Regions from separate parts of the Homo sapiens genome. Here region 2 is linked to region 1. The links are contacts of gene promoters, found by promoter capture Hi-C in human tissues and cell types (Jung and others, 2019). All regions are on one chromosome and are shown on one strand. Each heading gives the region's core, a stretch centred on a gene start or on the middle of the fragment in contact. The rest is flanking DNA. Distances are from core to core; before and after follow the strand shown. Region 1 holds the start of GPR85 (G protein-coupled receptor 85). Region 2 overlaps SAMTOR (S-adenosylmethionine sensor upstream of mTORC1).

Evidence for each region. Contacts are between HindIII fragments. The study calls those that stand out against the background at their distance.
Region 2: a contact is called between a fragment that was not itself captured here and the fragment with the promoter of GPR85 in region 1, in 1 of the 25 tissues and cell types used here (lymphoblastoid cells).

Annotation. Positions count from the first base shown.
Region 1 is chr7:113,085,394-113,090,090 of GRCh38, forward strand. GPR85 (G protein-coupled receptor 85) reads right to left here and starts at 1,434. Exons shown (of 3, transcript NM_001146267.2): 1 at 929-1,434; 2 at 599-716. RefSeq lists a silencer at 1,120-1,179. The HindIII fragment of the contact is 9,773 bases long and covers 1-4,697 here.
Region 2 is chr7:112,927,817-112,932,341 of GRCh38, forward strand. The region is part of intron 1 of SAMTOR (S-adenosylmethionine sensor upstream of mTORC1); the gene reads right to left. Among named protein-coding and RNA genes, the nearest start is that of SAMTOR, 9.8 kb to the right of the region's middle. The HindIII fragment of the contact is 5,138 bases long and covers 87-4,525 here.

The sequences.
Region 1 (4,697 bases), core at 184-2,683:
TTTCAAAATTAACTTCAAAATTAATAGGAACTTACTTGTCCCAAGATTTGATGTGATTTAATCATTTGTCTTTCCCTCTCCACCCTACCCCCCATTTCTGGCAAATCTTTTAAGCCCACATGATTATTAAAATGGTTAATGTAAATATTGGACAGGGAAACACACCCAGAGGAATAATGCACTTCCATTTGTAAACCTTGGCTGCCTGGATTCAAATGAATATAACATGAACCTGTATTTCTTGGGCAATTAAGCCTTTCCCATTTACACTGATAACCTTTGTTGCAAATCACAAGTGGCTGCTTTTTAAAACAAAATGCACATTGTCTCGCAGGTGCCTGGACCACACCAGGGAAATCGGCTTCCTCTGTTATTCCCACCAAGCGTGTTTCTTTTGCCACTTCTCACTGGCCCGGAATATGCTGGTGGAAGCCCAGGCAAAACTGCGTTCGATGATTTTAATTTCCCCACCGGTACATCCTCGGGTAAATACCGATCGCATCATGCAACATTACGAAACCTGAAATCCGCCACCCCTGGATTTATAATGGGGGGAGGGTGGAGGAGGGGGAGAGGGAGAGAGACATGCATTACATACGCGAAGATGGGGAGAGAGATTGCTTCTGTGCTGCAAAGGAACCGTTCCCGGTGATTCGCAGTCTGATATTCCTCAGTCTTGTAAGGCTTTCCAGAAATGGAGCTCTCAGTAAGCCCTACTGAAGATGCATTGTCTGAATGTACTTCCATTATGCAGTTTATTGTCACAAAACACATACACACACACACACACACACACACACAGAGACACACACACACACACACACACACACAACCTGAGGGAGGGCTCTTTCTCGGTGAACCTGCAGTTTCATCAACACTGTGCATTCCCCCACATCCCCCAAACTTAACCAAGAGTATATCCTCCTACCTGTTGGTGTTGGATATCCCGACAGACTATAGCTTCTTTCTATAAATTGCTGATTTTTTTCTTTTTTTCTTTTTCTTTTTTTTTTTTTTTTTTTTGTTTTTTGTTTTTTTTTTTTTTTTTTTTGCCTTAGTGCCTTGACTGAGCATCCAGGCAGGGCTCGGCGGCGCCTGCGCGCTGGAGCCTCCTTGAGCTCCAGCCGCGTCCTCCCCTGTCGCAGCGGCACCGTCTCCCCCAGTAACGCAGGGGCCGCGGCGGCGGCGGCTGCGGTGGCGAGGGCGGCGGCGGGGCTGCTTCAGCCTCTGTGGAACCAGCAGGAACCCCTACCTGACTCCAGAGCTGGCTGGGTTTATTGACTGCCCTGTCCAATCCAACTGGCAGCATTAAGCTTTTGTCCCTTCGTGGCTGCTTCTGAACTTTTCCCTCCCCGCATTTGTAGTGGGGGGCTGGAAAGGCCCTTTCAGGACCTCAGGCCCATCCTCTTCCCAAAGGCAGCGCACGAGGAAGTCACAGTGCCCGTGACGCCCGCCCCCTCCCTCAGCTTCCCGGAACCCTAACCTTCCCCAGACACTTTCTTCCCTTTTCTTTTAGGGTGGTCCAAACCACCGGAGGCTTCTTTTATATATTTATTTTTAAGTGATGTCTCCAGCTAACCTTTAAATTTGCAGGTTAGCTGGAAAAAGACAAGAAAAGAATGGGAAAAAAGAAAAAAAGTTATTTATTTATTTATTTATCTTTTTCCCACAGTTAAAAATCTTTTCAATGGGGAAGAAGGGAAGGCACGTTAGGGCAGCTCTCTCTTTGTTAGTCATCTTCTATTCTCCAATGCACGCAAATATGCGTAAAAGTAGGGAGAAAGCTAAGTTCAGAGGACAACTACAATATGATTTACATTCAGTCTACCTTAAAGGATGTCACTAAAGAATCAGGCTTATAAAATGTTTAAATGGCTATTCCTGGCATTCCACCCCACCAAGCAACAGTATTCCTTTTCCCTTCTTACAAGTTCCGCTGACCAATGATGGGTGATGTCAAAGCAGTTATGTGTACGAGTTTCCTTTTTTCCCCTTTGTTATTACAGATGAAAAATACTAGAAATATAACAAATACGTAAAACTTACACCAGTCCAAACGGTCGGATGATACCACAGACACCACAAAGCCTGACACGTGGGTGCTTAGGAATGCCTCTAGAATCATGCATTTTCTTATTTTACCATTTCCGAAGAGTTTTGTTTGTGGAGGTGATATAAAATTTTAAGCAACAACTTCCCAGTTCTCCTACCCAAAACTAGCAGACACGCTTTCATTAATTCCCAATGTAAAACGTCTGCTTCTTTTTCTGCATGCTTTTTGCTTTATAATAATCTGTTAATGAAACAAAAAATAAAAATCTTCTCTACAGTAATAATCTGATCTTGAGACAGCAGTAAAATACCTCATTGCTGGGTGGTGAGATTGTGACATTCAGGGGAACTCAGGCCAATCAGCATACAGATAATATGGGTTAATTTACATACTGTATTTCTATTGGATGAGCCGAGGTAAAGCCTTATCTTGATGTCACAGTCGTTACACAAAGCCCTATGTTGGTAATACTGAAATGATGTTAAATTTCCCTGATTTGTTCTTGAATTTCCTACGTCCATTTAAATACATGGATAATAGTTTGTTTTTTTCGAAAAGAATATACACAAGGCACTAAACTTTGGCATTCCCTTAACCTAGAAAAATCAATCCTACAGCCATGCTGGAAGTAACTTGAGGGCATTTCCATTCAAATAAAACATTCCACTTTTTGCAAAGCAAATGAATTCAAAACTCAAAACCATGTGGTGGTTTGCAACTTCTAAGTAAAATGTCAAATTCGTTTTTATGAAACTACAAATCACTTCAACTTGTGCTTTTTTGCTTCCCAATAAATGCTTCAATGTACTTTGCAAAGAGTTATTTCCTGAATTTTTACAGTTTTAAAAAATGTATGGAATAAGAGGCTTAAGTTTGCTGAAGATTCATGATTGGTCAGATGTTAGGTTGTACAGATTAGGGAAAAGCTATTTTAAAGTAAATTAAAAGAGTCACTGCACTGCCAGGCCATGAAGCAGTAATATACTCTGCCAAAAGTTATAGGGCCAAGATCCAAGGGTTTTAACTAGTCTTATTCTTTAAGCAGATATTGATTCCTTAAAAATAAGGGAGAGGGTATATGTGTATGCAATATTCTTTCATATCCACATCTCAGGGTATAGTAAAGCTATTTTTTTCCTTTGCAGTTGAGCACAGTTACATCCACTAATTCTTCAGCTTTTCCAGCTGTTGGATAAGAATGTCATTTTCTTGCCTCACAAGGGGACTCAAGAAATTAATGAGATATTTTCTATCTAGCTCATTAACTCTACTGGAGAAAACATTGGAAGCTACATCTTTCATCAGCAGGGCTTTAAAAAATATGTTTAATAGCTGACAAAAGTTTCATATCATCTACAAGTTCTCAAATGTAAAGTTATTGCTTCAAATTGTTTAGATCATAGGCTTAGTTGGTCTTAACTAATTTCTTTTTTTTTTATCCCCTACATCACCAAACCCAGAAAATTTGATTTTCAGGTTAAGAGTAAAAGAACAAAGCAAATACAACAAAACTATATGCTCTAATCCTTGGGTTTGAAGGGTTCTGAAGATTTACAAACTGTTGGAATATTACATGTACTATATTGATCAGTGTATTAGGAAAACTGATATAATTTGCTTAATTTGGTTCTTATAAAAAGTACATACCATTTTATTTTAAAAACCAATGACCTTGCTTTCAAAATTAATCTATTTCAGATTTTTGCCAACTGATGCATAGTATCATGATCAGCAAAAACAGTGTTTTTTTCTGTGCATTGTTTACATGAAAGTGTGTGTCAGGAAATAACACTTGGTAATTGCAGAGAATAATAGACTAGAATAAACATTCTAAATAAAAGATTTTTAGTAATTCATTTCAAATGACATGTCTTCTGCTTAAAGCATAAAACGTGTGTCTTTGGTGCTCTCAACTGTTACCAAAATTTAAAGTTGTATATGAAAAAGAGCCTTTTTAAAGTTTTCTTTAAAACTTTAACTATCTTTTTGATGGGGTTGTTTGTTTTTTTCTTGTAAATTTGTTTGAGCTCATTGTAGATTCTGGATATTAGCCCTTTGTCAGATGAGTAGGTTGCGAAAATTTTCTCCCATTTTGTAGGTTGCCTGTTCACTCTGATGGTAGTGTCTTTTGCTGTGCAGAAGCTCTTTAGTTTAACTAGATCCCATTTGTCAATTTTGGCTTTTGTTGCCATTGCTTTTGGTGTTTTAGACATGAAGTCCTTGCCCATGCCTATGTCCTGAATGGTATTGCCTAGGTTTTCTTCTAGGGTTTTTATGGTTTTCGGTCTAACGTTTAAGTCTTTAATCCATCTTGAATTAATTTTTGTATAAGGTGTAAGGAAGGGATCCAGTTTCAGCTTTCTACATATGGCTGGTCAGTTTTCCCAGCACCATTTATTAAATAGAGAATCCTTTTCCCATTGCTTGTTTTTCTTAGGTTTGTCAAAGATCAGATAGTTGTAGATATGCGGCGTTATTTCTGAGGCGTCTGTTCTGTTCCATTGATCTATATCTCTGTTTTGGTACCAGTACCATGCTGTTTTGGTTACTGTAGCCTTGTAGTATAGTTTGAAGTCAGGTAGCTTGATGCCTCCAACTTTGTTCTTTCGGCTTAGGATTGACTTGGCGATGCGGGCTCTTTTTT
Region 2 (4,525 bases), core at 1,406-3,905, 160 kb before region 1:
ATTTAAATTTTTCAAACACCCATTTTAAAAAACAAATTCGTAATTTTAAACATGAGTGATGCCAACTTAAAGTTGCCAAACCAAGTTCAATATGATAATCAATGAACCAAATTATTTTGAATCTTATATCAAGATAATACCATAACTATTGCATTGACTAAACTCACCTTCAAAAACACTATGTCACAACTAAAAAATAAATTAGGAGCTACTAATAAAAGGACAATGACAACTAGGAAAGAATAGCACATTCATTAATTTAAAAAGAGTTCCATTTTTAATAACTTTGTGATTAAGACATTATTACAATGCAACTGCCTTTGTAAAAAAACAAGTACAAGGAAATGGGTTTAAAAGTATTTTTGCTCTACATAACATCCAGAAGCGCAGCTCTAAAACAGTTCCAAATTAAAGTGAACCAATGGAATCCCTAAATTATTTATTTAGAGTTGATATTATTCTTTCTTTATGAATTAACCTCTCTCCTGCCATCTGGTACAGCATTTTTTTTCCTTCAAAATGTAACTGAATTCATATTTTCTTCAAGAGGGTTTATCTGCCTCCCACTTTATCATCTTACACTTCCCTCATCTGCCATCCTTACGGTACTTTGTCATTCATTTATACATACTGTCTATTAAAACCAGGTGTGATTTTCCCAATAGAAAGTATAAATGGAAAAGCAAAGACTACTTTTGATTTACAATTTGTATAAATTAGAGAAGTTAATTAGGGTGCTCAGTCAGTGGAGGACAAAATATTTAAATTTTCATCATGCTCAAAAAATAAACATGAAAAGTATAAACAAATTAAATTAGTTGCTAAGATAAAATTCAAACTACAGAGGATGGCTTTCAATAAATAGCAGTCACTCAAAAGCAGAATTTAAATTTTTCACAATAGTTACTGTTTTCAAAGTAAGAGTTCCAAGGTCAGAAAAGCAATAATTTCAATGTCATTTTTCTAGAGACCATTGTTTTAAGCTTATTAAAAAGGCTTTTTCATTTTGTGTTATTGTCAAAAGAAAACCTTGCAGCTGACAGTCCAGTCATATCCATTAAGTTCTTTAATAGCAGTACACAGATCTTTTCGAAAAATTTATTAGCTCAAGGAGAAATGAACAGTAACACCACCAAATAGATAAAGAATTACTTATATGTGAAAAAAATGAATAGGTGGTGCTAAGGTTCATGCATTTTTACATGCCAGGACCACTTGATTTTTATATACTTGATGTGTATAAAAATAATATTTTTTCTCAATAACTCTATCCTAATTCTCCTTTTTAAAACATACAAAGCACAGAAAATAAGTTAGCAAGTATATATGTGATGCCATTTTAAGATAAAAATATATTTACAAACCATATACCTGATAAGGGGTTAATATCCAAAAGATATATAAAAAAAACCTCAAACTGAATAGCAAAAAAACAAATAATCTGACTAAAAAATGGGCAATGACCTGAATAGATATTTTTCCAAAGACAACACAAAAAATGGCCAATGGGTATATAGAAGGGTGCTCAACAAAACTAATCATCAGGAAAATGCAAATTAAAACCACAATAAGATACTACCTCCCATCTGTTAGGATGGCTATTATCAAAAAGACCAGAGATAACAAGCATTGGTGAGGATGTGAAGAAAAGTGAATCCTGTATACTTATGTTGGGTATGTAAATTAGTACAGCCAAAACAGTATGGAGGTTCCTAAAAAAATTAAAAATAAAACTACTACATGATTCAGCAATCCCACTATGGGTATTTATCCAAAGGAAATGAAATCAGTATGTCAAAGAGATATCTGCAATCCTATAATCATTGCAGCATTACTCACAATAGCTAAGAAACGAAAATAAATGGAGGTGAATCTATAGTGAAAAGACATGTGAGACTGAGAGTATAGAGAGAGACCGACTGCAAAGAAGTATGAGAAAATTTTGGCAGTGATGAAAATGTTCTACGCCTTATTGTGGTAATGGTTTTACAGAGATGCATGCATTGTCAAAACTTACGGAATTATATACTTTAAAAAGACACAATTTACTGTACATGAATCATATCTCAATAAATTTAATTTTTAAAAATGATGTGCCACAAGCATGGTATATGTTACAAAATTAAGATTATATTTCATTAAATTTGAGGGCCATCAAATTCTCTAAAAAAGCAAAAAAATACATGAGTATCAAAAGTCTTAAACTTTTAGAAATTCAGAACAATTTATTTGATTCTGACTTAGGCATATTGCCAAATACGGGCCCTAAGATGCCTTATCTGTAGATGACAAGACTACCAAATTCAAGTTCAAAGTACCTTTAATGGTCATTTTCTCTAACACAAGGTAAGTAAAGAAACTCATGACTAAGTGCAAACAAGTTCAGCTACCATTTCAAGGCATTAAAACAAAATGTTCAGAATTCAGATTGTCTTACATAGTTAAGCCATACAACGACCAGTCTTCTCAGCTCTTGAGCACCTGATACAGTGACACATCTAAAAGTGGGATAAAAAACATCCAAGGTGTTTGGTAATTAAGAGCCAAAAAGTAACCAGAAAACAAAAAGTTTGAAAACCTGCATCTTATAGCCAACATGTTATGAATAGTCATTTCTCTAATGTGGGAAGAAAACACCACCAATATTCTGACATGCTAAAAAGGTTGGACTTTTCATATAAAAACTTAGAAACACAAACAGCAAAAGGGGCAAAAAAAAAAAAAAGAAGAAAAAGAAAAAGTCATTTTAATACTGAGAAGACTACAGAACAGTCTAGGTAAAAATTCCAGGAGCCATCCAGTCTTTAATGTCATAGTCCTTAAATGCATTGAAGCAGTATAGCTACAGATAAAAGAGCTGTTATTTTTAAATTTCTGTATTTTACAAGCTTAGTGTGTTTCCTATATGCCAAATGTTGTTTTAAGTGCTTTTCAAATATTAACTCATTTAATTATAATACCAATCCATTGAGGCAGATATTTTACTTTATAGATGAGGAAACTGAAGTAGAGCGATTAAGTAAACTTTTCCAAGGTTACACAACAAACCTGGTAGTCAAAAGCTAAAGTCATGCTCCTAACCACAAACTTTGCTTCTCTTCATAAGTTTTTAATTCATGAACTTTCATGGATATGAGCAAAGCTTTGCAACAGAGGAAAGTACACAGACTCTACTAACCACAAACAAATGGTCTTTTGTCAGTCAAATGCAGTTATTTAGTCTCTGCAACTGCATTATTTGTTAGATTTCTGGCAGTGGTTCTCAACTCTGGCTGCCAATTCTGGCTGCACATTGGAATCACCCAGAAGTTTCATTTAACTGGTCTGGAGTGGCAACTGGTCATTTAGTTTAACACTCCCCGGATGAATCCAACGTGTAGCTATGGCTTAAAACCAATGGTGTATAGCAAGGTTGTGAGCTTAAAAGCCTGGCAAAATAATATAGAGAGCAGGGGGTTGGGACAACCTTAAGAGTCCAATTTAATTAACAAAAAAAAAAACACAACAAAACAAATCAATGCATGGATTAAACTTAATATCTACAAACACTGGCTCACGGTGTATCTTCTGTTCTTGGAACAGCCTTTTATTATAAACATATCAACGATAAAAATACTTACTCCAAAATGCAAGTCTGTGAACACATCCTATAAGGCAGATGGAAAGAAATCAAGAAAAATCATAACCAATGTCACCAACATGTTATTCCCTTGTGAAAGTGAACTTCACAGGTGGGTCTATGACCACACAGAGCACTTGCTTAGTTTAATTTTCAACTTTCAAACAAAAGGATTTATGAACAGCCTTTTGGAACTTAATTTTCATATGTTCAATTAAAAAGTCTTACCCTAATTTCTATATAAATGGAAATGGATACTCACATGCTGCTCTAAATGCATGAAGATTAACCACCTATTCTAAAATAAACACAGCAATGGGTATTAGTGTATCTACACTTAAAGCACAATAGGTCAGTATAGTTTAGTGGTTGTCAGATGTTAGATTTTGTAACTAGTATAAATTTCACTTCAAATTTAAGAGACTGATATATTGGGGTTGAAAAATTTTTATCTGTAAATATAAACAAATACACAAAACTATTACTTTTTTTTTTTTTTTCTTTTTTCGGGATGGAGTCTCGTTCTGTCACCCAGGCTGGAGTGCAGTGGTGCAATCTCGGCTCACTGCAACCTCCGCCATCCAGGTTCAAGTGATTTTCCTACCTCAGCCTCACAAGTAGCTGGGACTACAGGCACATGCCACCACACCCGGCTAATTTTTTGTATTTTTAGTAGAGACAGGGTTTCACCAAGTTAACCAGGATGGTCTCTATCTCTTGACCTCGTGATCCACCCGCCTCGGCCTCCCAAAGTGCTGGGATTACAGGCATGAGCCACCGTACCCAGCTCACTATTACCATTTTTATTACCAACATACAGAGAGACATACATTATACCCACTACAACATCCTTATGAGAACAAATAAAGATACCATAATGAGTGTAAGGATATATTTACCATTATA